Regions from separate parts of the Homo sapiens genome. Here regions 1, 3, 4, 5, 6 and 7 are each linked to region 2. The links are contacts of gene promoters, found by promoter capture Hi-C in blood cells and fetal thymus (Javierre and others, 2016). All regions are on one chromosome and are shown on one strand. Each heading gives the region's core, a stretch centred on a gene start or on the middle of the fragment in contact. The rest is flanking DNA. Distances are from core to core; before and after follow the strand shown.

What was found. Contacts are between HindIII fragments. The CHiCAGO score rates a contact against its expected background, and 5 or more counts as called.
Region 1: a contact is called between a fragment that was not itself captured here and the fragment with the promoter of RPE in region 2, in 4 of 17 cell types (M0 macrophages, M1 macrophages, M2 macrophages and 1 more). The highest score is 8.5, in M0 macrophages.
Region 3: a contact is called between a fragment that was not itself captured here and the fragment with the promoter of RPE in region 2, in 4 of 17 cell types (neutrophils, M2 macrophages, fetal thymus and 1 more). The highest score is 8.5, in neutrophils.
Region 4: a fragment that was not itself captured here is called in contact with the fragment with the promoter of RPE in region 2 in 4 of 17 cell types (erythroblasts, monocytes, total CD8 T cells and 1 more); the score reaches 8.9 in erythroblasts.
Region 5: a fragment that was not itself captured here is called in contact with the fragment with the promoter of RPE in region 2 in 7 of 17 cell types (M0 macrophages, M1 macrophages, M2 macrophages and 4 more); the score reaches 13.4 in M0 macrophages.
Region 6: a fragment that was not itself captured here is called in contact with the fragment with the promoter of RPE in region 2 in 1 of 17 cell types (total CD4 T cells); the score reaches 7.8 in total CD4 T cells.
Region 7: a contact is called between a fragment that was not itself captured here and the fragment with the promoter of RPE in region 2, in 1 of 17 cell types (non-activated CD4 T cells). The highest score is 5.1, in non-activated CD4 T cells.

The regions. Positions count from the first base shown.
Region 1 is chr2:208,326,537-208,329,256 of GRCh38, forward strand. It overlaps PIKFYVE (phosphoinositide kinase, FYVE-type zinc finger containing), which reads left to right. Exons shown (of 42, transcript NM_015040.4): 21 at 1,644-1,744. Among named protein-coding and RNA genes, the nearest start is that of PIKFYVE, 62 kb to the left of the region's middle. The HindIII fragment of the contact is 2,141 bases long and covers 242-2,382 here.
Region 2 is chr2:210,001,290-210,004,085 of GRCh38, forward strand. RPE (ribulose-5-phosphate-3-epimerase) reads left to right here and starts at 1,349. Exons shown (of 6, transcript NM_199229.3): 1 at 1,349-1,494. The coding sequence starts at 1,373. RefSeq lists enhancers at 1,358-1,407, 1,448-1,617. The HindIII fragment of the contact is 5,690 bases long and covers 1-2,796 here.
Region 3 is chr2:208,246,079-208,249,007 of GRCh38, forward strand. It overlaps IDH1 (isocitrate dehydrogenase (NADP(+)) 1), which reads right to left. Exons shown (of 10, transcript NM_005896.4): 4 at 2,291-2,582. Among named protein-coding and RNA genes, the nearest start is that of IDH1, 7.5 kb to the right of the region's middle. The HindIII fragment of the contact is 4,254 bases long and covers 1-2,929 here.
Region 4 is chr2:208,292,441-208,295,302 of GRCh38, forward strand. All of the region lies in intron 7 of PIKFYVE (phosphoinositide kinase, FYVE-type zinc finger containing), which reads left to right. Among named protein-coding and RNA genes, the nearest start is that of PIKFYVE, 28 kb to the left of the region's middle. The HindIII fragment of the contact is 3,704 bases long and covers 1-2,862 here.
Region 5 is chr2:208,310,341-208,313,070 of GRCh38, forward strand. PIKFYVE (phosphoinositide kinase, FYVE-type zinc finger containing) reads left to right here. Exons shown (of 42, transcript NM_015040.4): 13 at 1,896-1,955. Among named protein-coding and RNA genes, the nearest start is that of PIKFYVE, 45 kb to the left of the region's middle. The HindIII fragment of the contact is 909 bases long and covers 841-1,749 here.
Region 6 is chr2:208,025,089-208,028,239 of GRCh38, forward strand. It overlaps PLEKHM3 (pleckstrin homology domain containing M3), which reads right to left and starts at 439. Exons shown (of 8, transcript NM_001080475.3): 1 at 301-439. The HindIII fragment of the contact is 609 bases long and covers 1,445-2,053 here.
Region 7 is chr2:208,227,711-208,230,718 of GRCh38, forward strand. No RefSeq gene overlaps it. Among named protein-coding and RNA genes, the nearest start is that of IDH1, 26 kb to the right of the region's middle. The HindIII fragment of the contact is 205 bases long and covers 1,637-1,841 here.

The sequences.
Region 1 (2,720 bases), core at 62-2,561, 1.7 Mb before region 2:
AATATTTCTTCTCCTATGCTATTTTTGTTTTTGTCTTGAGTCTGCTGGCTTATGTGTTACTTTAATATGTATGAAGCAGAATTGTAATGAAACTGGGTTTCAGGGTTTTAAGGTGAGCTTATAATAAGCTAGGAAGATCCCTGAAGTAAGGGGAAATGTGGAGCTGCTTAAAATTTCTGACAACATGACTTGGATGTGGTATGATAATCCTGGATCCTTGTGTCAGGGAGTGAGAGATGGAAGCTTATTGTAGGAAATAGATGTGTTTTTTTAAAAAAGTTAGCAGCAAATATATTTGTTTTCTCAAAAAAAGTTAGCTCTTTTTTTAACATAAAACATTTTACCTTGTTATTTAACTATGACAGTGATCTTTTTCTTTTTAGGCATAAATTGAGAGCAAATTAAGGAAGGTTTATAGATCCATTATTGATAATGGTAGCAATAAAACTAATTAACAAATCCATTGCTAGATGAGGAAATGCAATTGTTTAATAAAACGAGAAGATGTCCAATTTCGCCAGTAGTCAAGGAAGTGCTAAATAATGTATGTTCAATTTCACTAGTAGTCAAGGAAGTGCTAAATAATAGTGGTGCTAAATAATTTTTTATTTGTCAGATTGACAAAAAGGAAAGTCGTAAAAGACCCATGGTTAATGATGGCATGGAAAAACACCTTTCATAAATTTTATGTAAGTTTATACAAATGTAGGTATATGTACATTTGTATAAATTTATAGAAAGTGATAGGAAAGTCTCCATTAATTTACACATACATGTATATACCTTTGACCCAGGACTCCAACTTTTTATAATCTATCCTGCAGAAATAATTAAGTATGCTTATATAAGGGTGCTTGCATTTTTTAAGAATATATGTACAAAGATGTTTATTGAAACAGTTTAAGGATGAGCAGGATCTCAAGTCATTTAATGACTTGGATAAAGCCCATGATATATTTGAAGTGTTAAAAAGCAAATTATGTTTTAATATGTGTTGCATTATTCCATATTTATAAAAACAAAACCCCCTGTTTGTACTTAGGAAGTGATGTGTGTATGTGGGACAGGTATGTAAACTAGCAAAAAGAATAGATATTTTAAAACCACAGAGTCAAACTCCGCAGCTTAGGAGGTGGAGTAGAATCAGGAGGAGCAGTTTTGTGTATTTTATGAACTTCTTCATATGCTTCTATACTGTTTCAATTTTAACAGAGAGCTGGTTTTACCTTTGTAATGATCAAAAACAGCCATAAGCATAGATAAATAAACACTTTAGAATTTAGATTTCTGGGTGTCTCAGATTGATGTTATATCCCATCAGTTCAGACTGTTAAATATGGGTATATTTAATTAATTTTTTTCCAAAATAATTTAGTGCAGTTGTGTAAAATAAAGAGTAAGTTAAGAAAACAAGCTATCTAGACATTGTTTTGTATTTTTAAGTTTAATTGAAACTTTTTGGGTTGTCTTTTCTCAAAAACCAACTGCCCTTCCTTATATTTAGTTTTCTGTAGTTTTAAATCTTGACCAGAGCCCCCACAGTGATAATTGGAGGCTTTACAAATAGAGTGGAGTGTGTTTGGTGCATTGGGGTTGAATGCGGTTGCAGTCACTTGCTCATCCATTCATTCCTTCTATTTCAGGTGGACTGTCTGAATCCCATTAATCACCAGAGACTTTGTGTGCTCTTCAGCAGCTCTTCTGCCCAGTCCAGCAATGCTCCTAGTGCCTGTGTCAGTCCTTGGTAGGATTCTTTTCCCCCTACACTATTCCACATAAGAACAGAATTCCAGCAATTAAAAAAAAACAAAAACAAAAAAACAGTCATTAGGACCTGTATTTAGGTACACAGCACACTGCTGGTCATATATGAATTGATAGAACTTTTAAACTTGTGAAGTAAATATGAAAATACATGTTTGTTCATGAGTAGAAGTAAATGAGAGTATATTAAGAGTGAAAAAAGTGTGAGGGATAGAAGAGGAATTTGTATTGGTTGACTTTCCCTTATCTGAAATGCTTGGGACCAGAAGTGTTTTGGATTTAATATTTTTTCAAATTTGGAAATACTTGCATATACTTAATGAGTTATCTTGGGGATGGGACCCAAGTCTAAACATGAAATTCATTTGTGTTTCATATACACCTTGTACACGTAGCCTGAAGTTAATTTTATATAAGATTTGTAATAATTTTATGTATAAAACAAAGTTTGTATACATTGAACCACCAGAAAGCAAAGGTTTCAGTTGTGGAATTTCCCTCTTGTGGTACCATATCAGGACTCAAAAGTTTCAGATTTTGGAGCATTTTGGATTTTGGATTTTCAGATTAGGGATGCCCAACCTGTACTTAAAAATGTGAGAAAGTTGACACACAAAAAGCTTGTTTATAAGCATTTTGATGATAGCATGTACAATTTAGGCAGGTTTTCCTTCAGGCATAATTTTTATAAAAGCAGTCAACCTTTTGCTTTATTAATGGGTTTTAGTCTAAAACTTAAGTAGATTGATAGAAACTGAAATACATTTTATGTTTTAAATTATTTTTTTCAAATTATTGTCACAAAAACCTCACACAGACATACATAGCCTTACATTACATGTTCACCTTTAGTTTTAAAAGTACTATGGAACATAACTTCTTGTTTGGGGGCACTGTCTCCATGCCAGAACATATTCTGTGTTTTAATTTTGGATAACTGAAACACTTATTTCCAG
Region 2 (2,796 bases), core at 99-2,598:
TGTGTGTGAACAGCACACAAACCTATCACAATTTGTGAATGAGCATTGGAGAGGTGTAGGGGCCAAGGGAAAACTTTCCCTTCACCCTCCAAAGGTTTGCTGAAAATCACTGACAGAAAGAAGATTAACAGGAGAAAAGGCATAAAAACTTATTTGATTATAGTTTTACCTGACACAGGAGCCTTCAGAATGAAGACCCAAAGGTACAGGGGTGATTACCCATTTTTATACTTAGGTTCAACAAAGTATAGACAGCCATGTAGAAATACGATTGGACAAAATAGGCGATCTAATGCTAATAGACTGACCTGGCCTTGGCCAGTCTAGTTTAGATTCCTGGCCTCTCTGTGCAGCATTCCCTCCTCCTGGATATGGGATAGAACCTTCTCTAGAAGAGGAGTTTTATAACCTACAGTTGAGATGGGTCAAATAATTTATGGCCAGTTTTTACACAGAAAGGTGGAGGAAAGTTAGAGTAATGCTTTTGGGTTTTGTGTCTGGCTTCAGGGAAAGGGGGTTCCGGTTTCAATGACTCTTCTTAGGGAAGATGGGCTCCAGTTTCTATGACCTGCCTCCTAGAATGAGACTGAGAAGAGAGCAGGGCAGGAAGTCAGAGAAACACTGTTGCGTCTGAGGCCTTCACTTTGGGCTATCATTTTCTGAGCCTCAACAGAGGGAAAAACAAAAAAGGTAAGGAGGAACTGCAAAGGCAGAAAAAGAGGGTAATATAATAATAACTACCATTTTGTACTGAGCACCAGGCATCCTGCTGGGCGCATTACCTGGCTTCACTCATTTAATACAACCCTAAAGCTGGGCACTGTCTTTACAGATGAGAAAACCGAAGTTAAGAAGTGATTTGCCAGGTCACCCAGCTAGTATCTGGCAGAGCCAGGGTTCCTCCAGCTCAAAAGAAGAGCTCTAGGAGAAATACGAGGAAGAAAGGTTTTTAATTGTTGTTTTAAAGGGCCAGCATAGGCGCTGGAGAGGAAAGAAAGGCATATGCAAAGGGTGGAGAAACAAAAAGTGATGTTAAGTCAAGAGCCGAGGAGAGGGAACTGCAGGAGAAGCAAAGTGAAAAAAGGTTAAGAAACGCCTTGAGTACTGCGAGGACGTTAAGATCCAAACAGCACAAGAAGGAAGGTCAAAATCAGGTGTACGAGGCCCGTGTGCCCCGCCCCGCCCCAGGCGGACGGCTGACAGCGCCCCACCCCAGGAGGAGGCGGGACTTCCTCACCGCAGAGTGGCTGCTTCCGGTAGAATCCGGAAGCCTGTACGGAGAAGGGGCGGGGCCAAAACTGCGCGCCCAATCGGGGTGACGCTCTAGCCTTGCCGGGGACTCGTGGGTAACTTGCTTTTGGGAGCCAGCGGTATGGCGTCGGGCTGCAAGATTGGCCCGTCCATCCTCAACAGCGACCTGGCCAATTTAGGGGCCGAGTGCCTCCGGATGCTAGACTCTGGGGCCGATTATCTGCACCTGGACGTAATGGACGGGTAACTCCTCCGGGCTCCGGTCGGGCTTGCCGCGCGGCGGGGCGGATCAGTGCACCTTTATTGACTGCTTGTTGGATGTACCGCGTCCCTGTACCACCGAGCGCCTCACTCTGAACGCGATGCTAGAAGGGGTGTGGGGTAGGAGCCCTGGAGGCTCTAGCAGGAGCAGAACCGACGCGGTATCCTGGGTTGCGGCCGGGTCCCAAACCTCAGTTCCTCCCCTCCCCCCACGTAACGTGTGGTCTTCCATCACTTAGGACCCGGAAGCGACCTAAATCTTTAGGACATTTCTTCACTTTCAGCTAGAGAAACTGAGGCCCAAGGGGAGAAGCATGACTTGCCCAAGCTCATATAGCTAGTTAGTGGCAAAGCTGGGGAAACAGACTTCTCTAACGATTTAAGTTGGCACCTGCGGTTAGGTTCCCGAGTTCTGCCACTTGCTGGGTTACCTTGGACAAGCCACTAACCTCATTGAGCTTCAGTTTCATAATTTGAAAAATGGAACTACTAACAGAACCTACCGCTTAGGCATCTTGGAAGATGAAATGAGCGAGTACATGAGAAGTTTACAGTGCCTGGCGTATATTAAGTTCTCTATAATTGTTAATTACATCATTATTACAATTCTGATTTTCCTGTCTATTTTCTCTTCAGGCACCCTGCTCTTCAGGGAGGTCAGTTTTTTGTAAGTAATTTTTAAGCACCGTAGTTACAGCACATAATATTGTTTGGAGTCAGGATATTAGTTTCTGAAGTTGGTTACAGAATGAGGAAACAACCCCAGAGAAAGCAGTAAGACTCCCTCAAGATTACAGAAGATTGTGACAGACTTGCAACTTGGCTCTTCCTAGGTTTGCCAAGTAGTTCTCTGAGCCCCACTGTTAACTGACTATAAAAATCATAAATACCATTATCTTGAGTGGGGATGGAAAAATAAATTTATTTTAAATAGGTAAAAACCCTGTGTTCCCTCATTCAGTTTGCAAATTGGTGTTATTTTCTAAAGGTGATGATTTCCTTTTCTTTTTAATGTTAATCTGGCTTTGAAGAGTTTTATCTTCCATTGCTCTATGTGGTTAAATGTATTGTTTCTCTTTGGCATTTTACCCAGTTACCTTAGGAGTCCACCCAACTGATAATGACAAAACTTTGACCATAGAGTACTAAAAATAATAGGCCAAATGTGTAAAAAGTTTAGTAAATATTACCTCTCACAAAGGTTGGCTTTTAATTGGCCATTATATGTAATTATACTTATATACTTTATTTTTGACATCTTTGCTTGAAAGCCCTAAACTGTCA
Region 3 (2,929 bases), core at 94-2,593, 1.8 Mb before region 2:
GTATCATTGTTACTAGTGTTATAGGACTTGTTCATATGGAGCAATCAAATCATTCTGGGAGCAGCTACAATGGGATGATGATGATTTTTAGGAAAGGGCTGTTCAAGGACAGGCACCTCCCTCATGGGCCTCAGCTACTCAGTGGAATAATATGCCTGGCATATACTAGACATCCATAAGTCTTTGCTGCATTGTATCTTCTTCAATGAATTGAATCAGATACTTGCAGAGTTAGGTACCAGCAGGTGCCGGCCACATCTATAAGTGTAGAGAAATACTAATAACAACTGGTAAAAGAGCAGTAAGTAACAATAAAGATTAAACACCTACTTTACACAGAACATTTTTGACATATAAAATCCATAAAGTAAATATGGGTGGTAATTTATTACTATTTCTGAAAAGGGAGAAACTGAGGTACCAAAGCACCATAAATGCTTTGTATAGGTTTATGTATATTTAAACAGTCCATGAATCAACCTGAGGTTTGAAATTCTCTTTCTGGACTTTAATAAATAGAATGGCCATTTTTACAAATGACTGATGCCAAAATAATTAAAAAAAAAAAAAAAAAGAGGAAGGCCGGGCATGGTGGCATGCCTGTAATCCCAGCACTTTGGGAGGCGGAGGCGGAGGCGGGCGGATCACAAGGTCAGGAGTTTGAGACCAGCCTGACCAACATGGTGAAACCCCGTCTCTACTAAAAACACAAAAATTAGCCGGGCATGGTAGCATGTGCCTGTAATCCCAGCTACTCAAGAGGCTGAGGCAGGAGAATTGCTTGAACCCGGGAGGCAGAGGTTGCAGTGAGCCAAGATCACACCACTGCACTCCAGCCTGGGCGACAGAGCGAGACTCTGTCTCAAAAACAAAAAACAAAAAGGATATACGCAGAAAAAAGGCACGACTGAACTGGAAAGAATCTAGGGTGATTTTTACAAGATTAGCGAGTTTGCACCACTGCCATCTACCTTCCCTTGCTTGGGCCCCTGGGAGCTATTTCTGAAGGCTTTGGCCAGGATGAAAGGATAGTTTTAGCCACAGAGTGGAACAAAGTTAACTGACCCCTCAAGGACTAAACTGTTTACCCTCAACACACTGTTTTCAATGATGGCTACATTAAAACCTCTGGATTTCAGCATGAGAGATTCCTGTTTTTAAGGTCCTTTTAAGACATAAACTACTTTCTGTGAAAGTCTGAAACCTCAGTTTCAACACTGAACTTTGATTTTGTTTACTTGGCAGTTTTTTTGCTTAATTTGGCAACAAGTGTACTGGTACAGAAGTAAAGAAGCAATACTTTTTTTCCAGGCAGGAAGGAATGCTTTAGTAAGGCTGCTTTCAACTACCGAGTCAGTTTTTTTTTTCTTTTTCTTTTTCGAGACAGGGTCTTGCTCTGTTGCGTAGGCAGTGGTGTGATCATAGCTCATAGCTGTAACCTTGAACTCCTAGGCTTAAGGGATCCTCAGGCCTCAGCCTTCCAAGTAGCTGGGACTATAGGCACATGCCACCCCACTCAGCTTCGCCTACTCACTTTGTATATGAATAAACAAAACTGGCTCTTCCATGAACAATTGACATAATTATTGAAATACTTTTCATTTTTGTAGAGACAGGGTTCTGCTATGTTGTCCAGGCTAGTCTCAAACTCCTGGCCTCAAGCAGTGCTTCCAAATTGGCCTCCAAAGTGCTAGGATTACAGGTGTGAACCATAGTACCCAGCCAGTTTTTTCTTTTATGCATGATGGGATCATGTTTAATACAATCTTTGGTGGTTCTCAAGTTTGCACATTAGATTCACCTGGGGAGCTTTAAAATGCCTGAACCCCATGGAATTCAGATTTTAATTTGTGTAGGGTGGTACTCAAGCATTGAAACTAAAACAAAGAAACAAATCAAGCAAAGCAAAACAAAACCACCAAAAAAACTTGTAAGGGGATCCTATTGTGCAGCCAGTGTTGAAAACCACAGATCTGGTTGAACCATATGAAATTACCAACATAAAAATGGCAATATCATATGGTATAACTGAATAAAAGGATAAAGGAAAAAAAACAGCATGTTTGAAAAAAAATGTGTTGAGATGGACGCCTATTTGTAAGTTTATTTGTATTTGCCTTTAGCTAAATGTGTGTAAATATACAGTTATACATATATGCATTTCTCAATTTCATACCTTGCTTAATGGGTGTAGATACCAAAAGATAAGAATAAAACACATACAAGTTGGAAATTTCTGGGCCATGAAAAAAAAAACATGCAAAATCACATTATTGCCAACATGACTTACTTGATCCCCATAAGCATGACGACCTATGATGATAGGTTTTACCCATCCACTCACAAGCCGGGGGATATTTTTGCAGATAATGGCTTCTCTGAAGACCGTGCCACCCAGAATATTTCGTATGGTGCCATTTGGTGATTTCCACATTTGTTTCAACTTGAACTCCTCAACCCTCTTCTCATCAGGAGTGATAGTGGCACATTTGACGCCAACATTATGCTTCTTTATAGCTTCTGCAGCATCCTTGGTGACTTGGTCGTTGGTGGCATCACGATTCTCTATGCCTAAATCATAGCTTGAAAGAGAAAAATTAGAAGCAAAGTTTTTCAGACAAATGGATAGTTATAACCTACAACTGCAGTGATGGCATATAGAGCTCATTATGCAGAAAGCGAAGGCTCTGAGTACACCAAAATCTGCCAAGTTTTAGCACTGGCACACCCTAAACACAGAAGATGGGTGCCAACTACAAAGAGAACTAAGAGAGGCTAGACTGCTGGGCTGCCCCTCCTCTTGTAATGGGAAGCTGTCTATCAGGAAAATGAATGGAAACCATCAAACTCTGCCCTTTGCCTCCTGTTTTTCACCAGATAGAGGCAATAATGGCCTGGTTTCTCTCCATATAATTAGTATAATAAGTGT
Region 4 (2,862 bases), core at 45-2,544, 1.7 Mb before region 2:
TATCAGTTTTTGCCTCATATATTTTGGTACTCTGTTGTTAGGAGCGAGCATACATATTAAGGATTGTTCTGTCTTTTGGAATATTGATTTCTTTATCATTATGTAATTTCCCTTTTTATCTTTGATTGCTCTGAAGTCTGTTCTGCCTGAAAATTAATATAGTTACTCCTGCTCTTTTTTTTATTAGCGTTAACATGGTTTATCTTTCTCCATCTATTTCCTTTTGTTCATGTATCCTGTTTTGATTTCATTTAAAAATTTAAAAATTAATTTTTAAAATTGACACATAATAATTGTGCATATTTATGGGGTAAATAGTGACATTTTGACCCTTCACTTATTTTTTAATCTGTATGTGTCTTTGTATTTAAATTAGGTTTCTTGTAGACAATGTATTTTTGGGTCTTGGTTTTGATCCATTCTAACCATCTCTGTCTTTTAGTTGGTGTATTTAGACTATTGACATTTAAGGTGATTACTGATGTAGTTAGAGTAATCCCTGCCGTATTTGTTACTGTTTTCTACTTGTTGCCCTTGTTCTTCCTGTTTTTGTCTTCTGTACCTTTTCCACCTTTATGTATTTAATTGAGCATTTTATGTTATTCCATTTTCTCTCCTTTTTAAAGGATACGAGTTACATTCTTTTTTTTTTTTTAATGATTGCCCTAGAGTTTGCAATGTAACTTACAACTAATCCACATTTACTTTCAAATAATACTATACTACTTCACAGGTAATGCAAATACCTTATAACAAAATACTCCCAATTTTTCCCTCCCATCTGTTGTATTACTGGCATTCATTTCACTTACATATAAGCATGCGTACATACATAATTGAATATATTGTTGCTATTATTTTGAAGAAATAGTTATCTGTTACATCAACTAAGAGTAAGAAAAAGAAAAGTTTTTACTTTAACTTATTCCTTCTTTGATGCTTTTCTTTGTGTATTAATAGATGTAAGTTTCTGACCTATATCATATTCCTTCTCTCTGCCTTTTCAGCATTTTTTGCAAGGCAGGTCTACTGGCAAAAAATTCCCTCAGTTTTCATTTGTCTAAGAAAGGCTTTACTTCTCCTTCACTTTTGAAGGGTATCATCAGGGTACAGAATTGTAGGTTGATGGCTTTTTTCTCTCAACATCTTAAATATTTCATTTCATTCTTTTTGCTTGCGTGGCTTCTGAGGAGAAGTCAGATGTATTTATTATCTTTGATACTCTACAGGTAAGGTTTTTTTTTTTTTTTCTTTAAATAGAGATGGGGTCTTGCTGTGTTGCCCAGGCTGGTCTCAAACTCCTGGCCTCAAGCGATCCTCTTGCTTTGGCTTCCCAAAGTGCAGGGATTACAGGTGTGAGCCACCATGCTTGGTCTTTAAGGTGGTCTTTTTCAAGATCTTTTTCTTTATTTTTGACTTTCTGCCATTTGAATACACTTAGTTTTGCCTATGTGTAGTTTTTTTGACATTTATCCACGCTTGTGTTCTCTGAGCTTCCTGGACCTGTGGCTTGGCATCTGACATTAATTTGTGGGAAATTCTCAGTGATTATGGCTTCAAATATTGCTTGTGTTCCTTTCTCTCTTTCTTCTTTTTTCGGTATTCCCATTACATTTATATTATACCTTTTGTAGTTGTCCCACATTTCTTGGATATTGTTTGTTCAGTCTTTTTTCTATTTGCTTTTCAGTTTTGGCAGTTTCCGTTGAGATAGCCTCAAGTTCAAAGATTCTTTCCTTACCTCTGTCTAGTCTACTAAGAGTCCATCAAAGGCACTCTTCTTTAATGTTATGGTGTTTTTGATCTCTTGCATTTCCTTTTTGCTTCTTTCTTAGAATATCCATCTCTCTGCTTATATTATCTGTTCTTGCCTGTTGTTTACTTTTCGCATTAACACCCTTAGCATATTAATTATAGTTTAAAAACAATTCCTAGACTGATAATTCCCACATTCATGTTGAGCCTGTTTCGGATGCTTGTTCAGTGTCTTTGAACTGTGTTTTTTGGCTTTCATTATGCCTTGTGATTTTTTGTTGAAAGGTGGACATGCTGTACTGGGTAAAAGGAACTATGGTAAATAGGCCTTTAGTGATGTAGTGATAGGATGTAGGGGGAGGTTAAGTGGTCTCTAGTCCTGTGAATCACTGTCACAGGTGAGCCTGTGCCCCTGAACTGTAAACTTTATCAGGGCTTTTCGTTTTTTTCCCCTTAGGTGAGACAGAATGGCTGGAGGGGGCTGGAGTTGGGGATTTTTCTTCCCCCATGTGGAAGGCTAGAAGGGGCTGTGGTTGGGGATTTCCTTCTCCCTGGGTAGGTTAAGCTCTGATATAACTCCAGCAGGTTAGGCTCTGGTAAAATAGTTTCTCCTCAGGGCAGGACTTGTTATGAAGAACAGAATGCTCTGACGTATTTTTAAGTTCTTTATTCTCTCCCTCTGCTGGAAGCCAGAAGCCGGAGGGAATTTTTCTGACATTCACTGTGAGGACGTGGTAGATCTGGAAGTGAAACTCCCAAAAGCATCCCCACTACCCCCATGACTGGGTTCACCTAGAATTTGTATCTCTGGTTTGTCTACACTGAGCTTCAAGGAATTTGTCAATTTGATTTTAGGTTTTCCTACCCTATTACTGGTTCCCATGGAGGTTTCTGCTCCAGTGAGTTGTGATCCTCTGTATCTGCTTGTCTGTCTGCAGTATTTGGAGCAGGATTTGGCTTGTGACCTGACTTCTCTGATGGACCTAAGAACAGTTGATGATTTTTCTCTTTGTTCAGGTTTTAGTTGTTGAGATGGAGTGAAGATGCTCACGTGCTAGACCAGAAGTAGAAAGTTCTATTTTTTACTTTTGAATACTTAAGTGTTTT
Region 5 (2,730 bases), core at 45-2,544, 1.7 Mb before region 2:
AAATTGGATTTATAAAATTGGTTGAAATATCTGTACTTTAAAAAATACTACTTATGCTTTCTGTCTGAAGTGAGAAAACCCTATTTTCAGAAGCTCGTAAAACTGGCTTAATTTTTCATTATTGGTCTTGGAGAATTGTACAGTTAAAATATATTTTATTATGTATTACAAGCAGGATTCTGAACTATTCTTGGAAAGTTAGCAAGTAAAACCTAGAGAAGAAGGTGAAAATCACGGCTTCCGTAAATCTCTAGATGTAGTTTTCCGTGTATAGGAAAACATGGGATAGAGGAGCAAGTTAAACACACCATGAGAAAACAATGGATTGTACTCCGAATGTGGGACATTGCACAGAACATTTGACCTGGGTTCTTTTAAATTCATGTTATGAAAAGAAAAAAAGACAGGAGATCTGTTCTAGATTAAAAGAGAATGAAGAGATACAGGAACCAAATGCCATGTGTGAACTTGATTGCATCGAGGCTTAAGAAGAAAAACTGTGGATTAAAAACATTTTGGAGACAGTTGGATAAACTTGAGTATGGGCTAATTCTGTGCTATTAAGACATTGTTAATTTTCTCAAATATGTAAATAATTTTGTGGCTATAGAGAAGAATACCTTTATTTTTATGAGAGTTGTGCTGATGTCCTAGTGGTAAAGTGTCATGATGTGTGTAACTTTGAATGATCGGGGGGAAGAAACATACACATATATGGCAAATCCTTAACAATTGTTGAACTCAGGTGGATGGTATACAGCATTTTCTGTAGGTTTGAATTTTTTTCATAACTAAATGGGGAAAATCCACCATTTCTGGAGTCTCATATAGATACAATTAAGCTTTAGTGTGAGAAGGCTGGTAAAGAACAATACATTAATTGAACTAATAGGATTTGGTGTTACTCATTCCTGTGAGGGAAGAGTAGAAATAAAGTGTAACATCTATCTTGCCCACATACTCGATTTTATTGTATTTGGCATAGTGCACTTGAACTTTCTAAATAAAATATTTTCTTTGTTTCCTGGTTGGAAGGATGAGCATATTGGCTTATAAACATAGTAACTTTTAAAGCCCAGTTGTTTATAAATGTACTTGGAGAAAATTTTGTGGAGATCCTTTACCGTAAAGGAGTTTACATGCATCATGTTTTAATTTGCATAGTGGAAAGAACCTCATTTGAGCTATGCTTGGTCACAGACCTAGAGAAAGTTCACGGGGAAGTAAAGAGTAAGTTTCACTTGTAAGAAAAGTATTTAATATATTAAAAGCATTCAGAGTGTGTTCAGTTAATGTCTAGCAAAAATTTGGCAGTGTTTGATATAATTTTTGAAAAACAAAAACACTTATTTGGAACTAATACAAATACTGATGAGTTTTATCTTTATTCCTGCCAATGTCACTTCTGTATTAATTTGTTTTATAGCTTATATTCTGAAATTTGAAAAAAGTTTATATTGTTTTATCAGGTGGGTTCTGTATGAACTGCTTTGTGCATAGGCAAAGTGATTATTTGTTAAATCATCAAGTTACATGTGAAAAGAACTGTAATCTTTTAGGATGGTCGTACAAGTATCTGAAGATTTAATTTTCATAAACCGGTTGGTTTTGGTAAGAGAAAAACATTTCTCTATCTGACATTTGAATTAAGGAGAATTGTTTTCACGGCTCTATTGTGTTATTAATGCAAGTCTGCTTAAGTTTAGTATGAAGTGCATAGAACAAGTATAAAGAGGCATTTTTACCCAAAGCTTTCTTGAATTTGCCGGGCAGTGATGGGTTTAGTATGAGTAATATTTTGTGTGTGGGCGTATTCTCTATATAATTATGCTGACATGTTATAGTCATATGTCTCTACTTTTGTTCCTCCTCTCTGTTGTCTCCCTGGTATGCAGAGTATTTGATTTCTGACACTGGAGGACAACAGCTCTCAATAAGTGACGCTTTCATCAAAGGTAATTTTATAAAAAGCTGTATGTGGAATGGTGTCTCTTTTTTTCATGAGGATATACTTAGGGCTTAGCACATTGATTAGCACAGAGAAGGTGCTGAAAATATATTTGATTATGGTGGTATCATGGGAACACAGTTTTTAATATATATAATGATTTAGAGAATGTTGAGAACCAAGAATGTAAACTTGGACTTGGTTTGCGAGAAGGAGGTCTCTGATGTGAAAAGTAATTGTTTAAAAACTTTTAAGTAGAATTTGAACTTAATTCTTTTAAAGACATAGTTTACACTTAACTGTATTGTGAATATAATATTAAGTATTGATATAAATATCATCAAGGATTGTCAAATTTGTCAAAAAGCCCACAGGCAGATCTCCAGTTAAGGATGCTGCTTGCCCTGTGGAGTGAGGAAGAGAAGCAGGCAGTAGAGGTTAAAGAACTAACTCTGATGATAAATTTCTTTTGGACACAAAAGGAGATTAGCCTTCTCCTATTCCTTCCCTACTTAGCTTAGCTTAGCTTCCTAGAGTAAAGACATTCTTAGTCCATAGTACTCCACTGGTTAGGCCTCAGATAATGGGAGAAAATTTCTCTTCCTTCTTGGCTCCCACGGTTTCAGATCAAAGAGAGAAGGCAAGCGGGTACAAGGAGCCACTGCAGCTTATCTGATAGCTTGGCAGTGCTTCTAAATTCATCTCCAAGCATCTGGTTCGGCTAGAAGTTTACAGAGTGGCCCTTTATGTAATTGAAATGTGCAATTCTTGTACTTCACATG
Region 6 (3,151 bases), core at 499-2,998, 2.0 Mb before region 2:
GGGGATGGCAGGGATACTAATAACGCACTCAACAAGATCACCTACTATTTCAACTACTTTCTCCTCCTATTACATACCTGATTCACAAAAATAAGCAGACAATGCATCATGTAATCTCCCCTCACCCATTAGCCATTGCAGTGTGGTACAATCTCCAGCACGTAATAAAAACCTGAGCATGCAAGAAACAGCAAAATCACTGCTATCCCTGGGAGCTGCTCGGATATTTACAATGCAGTCGTCCCCACCCCATCCCCCAAACTGGCCGGCCAGGCAGCACAGAAGCAGACGGATGCTCACCTGGGCCCCGGCTGCTACTCTCCATTCACCTGCGGGGCCTTCAGTCCGCTCCTGGAGGGGCTTGACTCCCGCAGCCTGCCGCCCGCCTCACGGTGACAGCCCGCCCGGGCGCTGACCATCCCGGCCCGGCTCTGTTTACAAGCGGCTTCTCGCGGTCCCACTCTGAAATGCTTCCGCCGGCGGCCCGGGCAGCCAGAGCCGGACACACAAGGTTCCAGGCCGCGAGGACGAGTCTTTCCTGCCCGAGGGACCCGGCAGCTAGGCAAGGCCTGACCGCACCCGCCAGGCCTCCTTATTTCTTTGCTTTCTTATATACAGTTCCTCTTGTACACATTGTGAAAGCAATGGCGTGTGTCGTGGAGTCTCCTCACTGCTCCACCCAACGCCAAAATGGGTGTTTGCGATTGGAAAATGTCACTTAGAACATGTCAGGATCGGGCTGGTTTTTAGCAGCTCCCTTGTCTAAGGGAATTAATTACTCAAATAAGTTCTTTCCAAAAGTGGGACTATTCTGGAGATTGCTTCTCATTTCCGGTTTTGGGGCTGCAGTGAAAATCCGTTTTCACTGTCCTTTCCTACGCAGGTTGAAAAGGGGTGGTTTTGAGGTGAGGTCTTCACCCCCACTTGCGGATTCCCAGCAAAATAGGGTGTGCGTGTGTGTGCACGCGGGCAGGACTGCCTGGTAAGACCGCCCACATCCCACCTGCAGTGACTGTGGTCGCTTTGCAGGGATATGCTGGTCTGATTGGACAGACCTTCCTTGCAGTTTCCTGTCTGTTTTCCATCATAGCACACTTCTTAGCCATTTTCTCACTTTATAAGTACACACTTATTTATCAGTTTTATTGGTTTTCCCACGCTCACCCATCTCACCTATAAACTCCCTGAGGGCAGGCACTATTTCAGTTTCACTCACCACCATCTAGTAGGCACCTAGCACAGGCCCAATGTATATATATCTGAATAAATGAATGAACAAAGGAATGATAAAAAAAAAAAAAGGTCAAAGGGGTCAGGGATGAAACAGAAATCTAAAACTCTGATTCCTCTTCCCACCTTCCCACCCTCCAGAAGATTAATAAGCAAATCTTTAAGCTTTGAGTTAAGAAAAAATTTCCTTTGGTTGATATTCAAAGTTTAAATAAGCTTTCTTTAAACCCTGCAATTTGAGGTACTTTTTTTTCTGTTTTGCTAGAGACAGGATCTCACTCTGTGCCCCGGCCAGAGTGCAGTCGCACGATCATAGCTCACTGCAGCCCTGAACTCCTGGGTTCAAGGGATCCCCCCAACTCAGCCTCCTGAGTAGCTAGGACTACAGGCACGCATCACCACAACGTGGCTAACTTCTTTTTTCTTTCTTTCTCTTTTTTTTTTTTTTGTAAAGGCAAGGTCTCCCTGTGTTGCCCAGGATGATCCTGAACTCCTGGCCTCAGGCAATCCTTCTTCCTTGCCTTCCAAAGTGCTGGGATTACAGGTGTGAGCCACCTCACCTGGCCAGAGGTACATTTTTTGTTTTGTTTTGTTTTAATTACCAAAAGAGAATATTTGCAGTATTCTCTTTTGCCTCAGGACTTTGTACATGTGATTCCCTCTGATGAGAGTTCTCACTCCTGGCCCATCCTCTTACTTAGGCTGGCTAATTTCTCTTTGCTCTTTAAGAAGCAGGTAACAGGTGCTTGGTCTCTCAAGTCACTTGCTTGGTCTTCTTCCAAGTGTTCTTTTCTTCTTTTCCTTCCCTTCATTACTACTCTAAAGCTTTTTAATAAACTTTCACTCTAAAAAAAAAAAAAAAAAAGGCCGGGTGTGGTAGCTCGTGCCTGTAATCCACGCACTTAGGGAGGCCAAGGCGGGTGGATCGCTGGAGGCCAGCGGTTCGAGACCAGACTGACCAACATGATAAAACCTCATCTCTACTAAAAATACAAAAATTAGCAGAGCATGGCGGTGCACGCCTGTAATCCCAGCACTTTGGGAGGTCGAGGCGGGTGGATTGATTGAGGCCAGCAGTTCGAGACCAGCCTGGGCAACATAGTGAAACCCTGTCTCTACTAAAACGAAAATTAGCCAGGCATGGTGGCACACGACCTGTAATCCCAGCTACTTAGGAGGCTGAGGCACTAGAATCGTTTGGACTCAGGAGACGCAGGTTGCAGTGAGCTGATATTGAGCCAGTGCACTCCAGCCTGTGCAAAAGAGCGAGACGCTGTCTCAAAAAAAAAAAAAAAGCAGATGACATCACACCTCTTCTGGAAACCTTGCCTGATAGGGGAACCTGCTCCTTTTATGCACTCCTAGAGGATCTCATGTGTTCCTTTATAAATGTACCCATTACATTGTGCTACACAGATCAGTCTTCCATTGGATTGGTGGTTCTCAAAATTCACATGGAACAGAATCTTCTAGGATGGTGTTTCTCAAACTTTAACGGGTAAGAATTCTGTCAAAATGCAGAATCTGATACAGTAAGTCTGGGATGGGGCCTCTCCAACAGTCATGATCTCCTAAGTGATGCTGCATTTTGAGTGTCAAGGTTCTTGAATGCTGTTAAAAATGCAGATTCCTAGGCCGGGTGTGGTGGCTCATGCCTGTAATCCCAGTACTTTGGGAGGCTGAGGCGGCCGGATCACCTGAGGTCAGGAGTTTGAGACCAGCCTGGCCAACATGGCGAAACACTGTCTCTACGAAAAATACAAAAAATTACCCGGATGTGGTGGCTGGTGCCTGTAGTCCAAGCTACTTGGGAGGCTGAGGCAGGAGAATTGCTTGAACCCAGGAGGCAAAGGTTGCAGTGAGCCGAGATCATGCCATTGCACTCCAGCCTGGGCGACAGAGTGAGACTCCATCTCAAAAA
Region 7 (3,008 bases), core at 489-2,988, 1.8 Mb before region 2:
CTCAGCCCTTGGGCAGTCAATGGGACGGCAGGGCGCGGTGCCCCTCAGGGAGGCTCTGCCCGCACGGGAGCTCACATGGCATAGGGGGGAGCTCAGGCATGGTGGGCTGCAGGTCCCGAGCCCTGCCCCAGTGGGAGGCGGCTGAGGCCCGGCGAGAATTTGGGCATGGTGCGGGCGGGCCGGCAGTGCTGGGGCACCCAGCAGCTGCTGGCCTGGGTGCTAAGCCCCTCACTGCCCTCGGCCAGTGGCTCCGGCCGGCTGCTCCAAGTGTAGGGCCCACGGAGCCTGCGCCCACCCGGAACTCGCACTGGCCCATGAGCGCCACACGCAGCCCCGATTCCCGCCAGCGCCTCTCCCTCCACACCTCTCTGCAAGCAGAGGGAGCTGGCTCTGGCCTTGGCCAGCCCAGAGAGGGAGTCCCACAGTGCAGCGGCGGGCTGAAGGGCTCCTCAAGTGCGGCCAGTGGACGCTGAGGCCGAAGAGGCACTGAGAGCAAGCAAGGGCTGCCAGCACGCTGTCACCTTTCAATACCGCTGAACTACATGAGGTAATCACAACTGTGGAAAAGGGCAAGAATTAAAGTACTAATTGTACAGATCAAGATGTTGCTTATCTTGCCATAGCTTTAGGATATTTGAAGAATGTGTTCATAGAAAATGAGACCCAAGTTAACTCCAAATAAGTTCTGAAAAGCATTCCCATTATAATAGTAAAGAATCATACTGAAACACTGTCACAAAACCAGTGACTCAAAACCCAAGCTGTCTGACGCTCAGCAATGGTACAATTGCAGTAGCCTGACCTATAAAAGTACCCTCACCTAGAGGTTGTGGGTCCTATGGGACACTGATTTACCAAGATAGTGTCAGGATTAGCAGACATACTCCAATCTACTTGTTGGATGAATTAGGTTCAAAAATCAAAGAAAGGAAAAAAAACCCTTCTGTAAGGAAGTAGATGCAGATGGAAAGGCCAGATTAAAAACACTGGCTGAGCTCCAAGTTGTAAGTTTTCATGGAATAGAACAAGAGCATGGTAATTAATTTGCAGTAAAAAATAAGTCACCAACAAGCAGGGTATTTCAAACAATAAAAATACAAACATGATCAAAAGAAAAGTAAACTTGCTGAGTAATTCTAACAAAGGGAGTTACTGCAGCCAGGAAATATGGAACATTTTAAATAGGTAAGAATAGCTCTAGAATATTAGAATAATATTTCAGGGTCAAAGTTAAGTTGTTAGCTTTTTGTTTTTTGTTTTTTTTTTTTTTGAGATGGAGTCTCGCTATGTCACCCAGGCTGGAGTGAAGTGGCGTGATCTGGGCTCACTGCAACCTCTGCCTCCCACGTTCAAGCGATTCTTCTGCCTCAGCTTCCCAAGTAGCTGGGACTACAGGTGCCTGCCACCACGCCCAGCTAATTTTTGTATATTTAGTAGGGACGAGGTTTCACCATATTGGCCAGGCTGGTTTTGAACTCCTGACCTTGTGATTCGCCCGCCTTAGCCTCCCAGACTGCTGGGATTATAGGCATGAGCCACCGCGCCCAGCAAGTTGTTAGTTTTTAATCACGTATTTTAAACATTTTGGAGTTTACTCAAAAAATTCAGAGTTAAACCCTGTAGGAAATGACTGAAAAGCTTCTGAAGTGGAAAAAAAAAAAGGAGAAAATTTTGAAATTGGTAAAAATTTAGTGACTAGAACATAGGAAAATGTGATTCAGTTAGACTGTCTTGAACGTTAGTCTCTGAGCATATAAATAATGTGCAAAGCATTATTTTCCAAATAAAACAAAGCAAGACCAACTAGGAAAAGGATAATTCTCATGTAGAAATCAAATGAAAGCTTTAAAACCAAATACTCCTAACAAGAAAGTGTCGTGAAGTCATCCAGGTAAAGGAATGTAGGTCCAAAAAGCCCACTAAAGACCCTCAAATGTCTTTACTCATAATACTTAGTATATAGTCCAGTTAAAATTCCAGGGCAGAGCGCCTTCCTGGAGAGAGGCTTTATAAGCTTATATTTGGAAAGGTTAAAGATGATTTGAAATTGTGTCATCTATCAAAGGCAAACCAAGAGGCTTTGTCAAGAGGGTGAGCCTACACTGCAGAGAAAGTTTTTGAATTTGTTCCAGAAGAATGTTGTCCTATGCAATTAGTCCAAGGGATTAAGAACAGGTTTCCTAATACACTTTTAAAAACTTTTTATTATTAAAAAAGGATGCAGGCTGGGGGCGGTGGCTCACGCCTGTAATCCCAGCACTTTGGGAGGCCGAGGTGGGTGGATCACGAGGTCAGGAGATCGAGACCATCCTGGCTAACACGGTGAAACCCCGTCTCTAGTGAAAATACAAAAAATTAGCTGGGCGAGGTGGCGGGCGCCTGTCGTCCCAGCTACTCGGGAGGCTGAGGCAGGAGAATGGCATGAACCCCGGGGGGCGGAGCTTGCAGTGAGCCAAGATCACGCCACTGCACTCCAGCCTAGGTGAAAGAGCGAGACTCCGTCTCAAAAAAAAAAAAAAAAAAAAAAAAAAAAAGAATGCAGTAAACCACACAAAACAAGTGTATAATGTAGTAAACCATTACAAGGTACTCTTGTAATCATTACCCGTATAAAGAAATGGAACACAGCCAGCTGCCCTAGAAGTCCTCATGTGCCTATCCCAGTCATACTCTGTCCCTGTTCCCATTATTACCTGAAAGTCCATCGTGTGGACTCCATAATTTAGTCTCAATAATAGAATTTGAAAGTCGATATCCCCATCTTTCCAAAAGGTCAGTAACTGGTGACAACCCTAGCACCCTAGTACCTTCCTTTGCTTCTACCCCAGACTTGTTTTTTAAGTTAAGTAAGTCTCCAGTCTCTGGAGATCCATCTTGAAACAGGCGGTCTTTCAACAATACTTTCTGCTGAGACATTGTCTGGTTAGATCTGGAAAGGAACGCGTGGACCAATACATTCTATTGGTAGAAAAGGAGCATCGCACATGAAAGCTCTTCTCGGAGGAAGC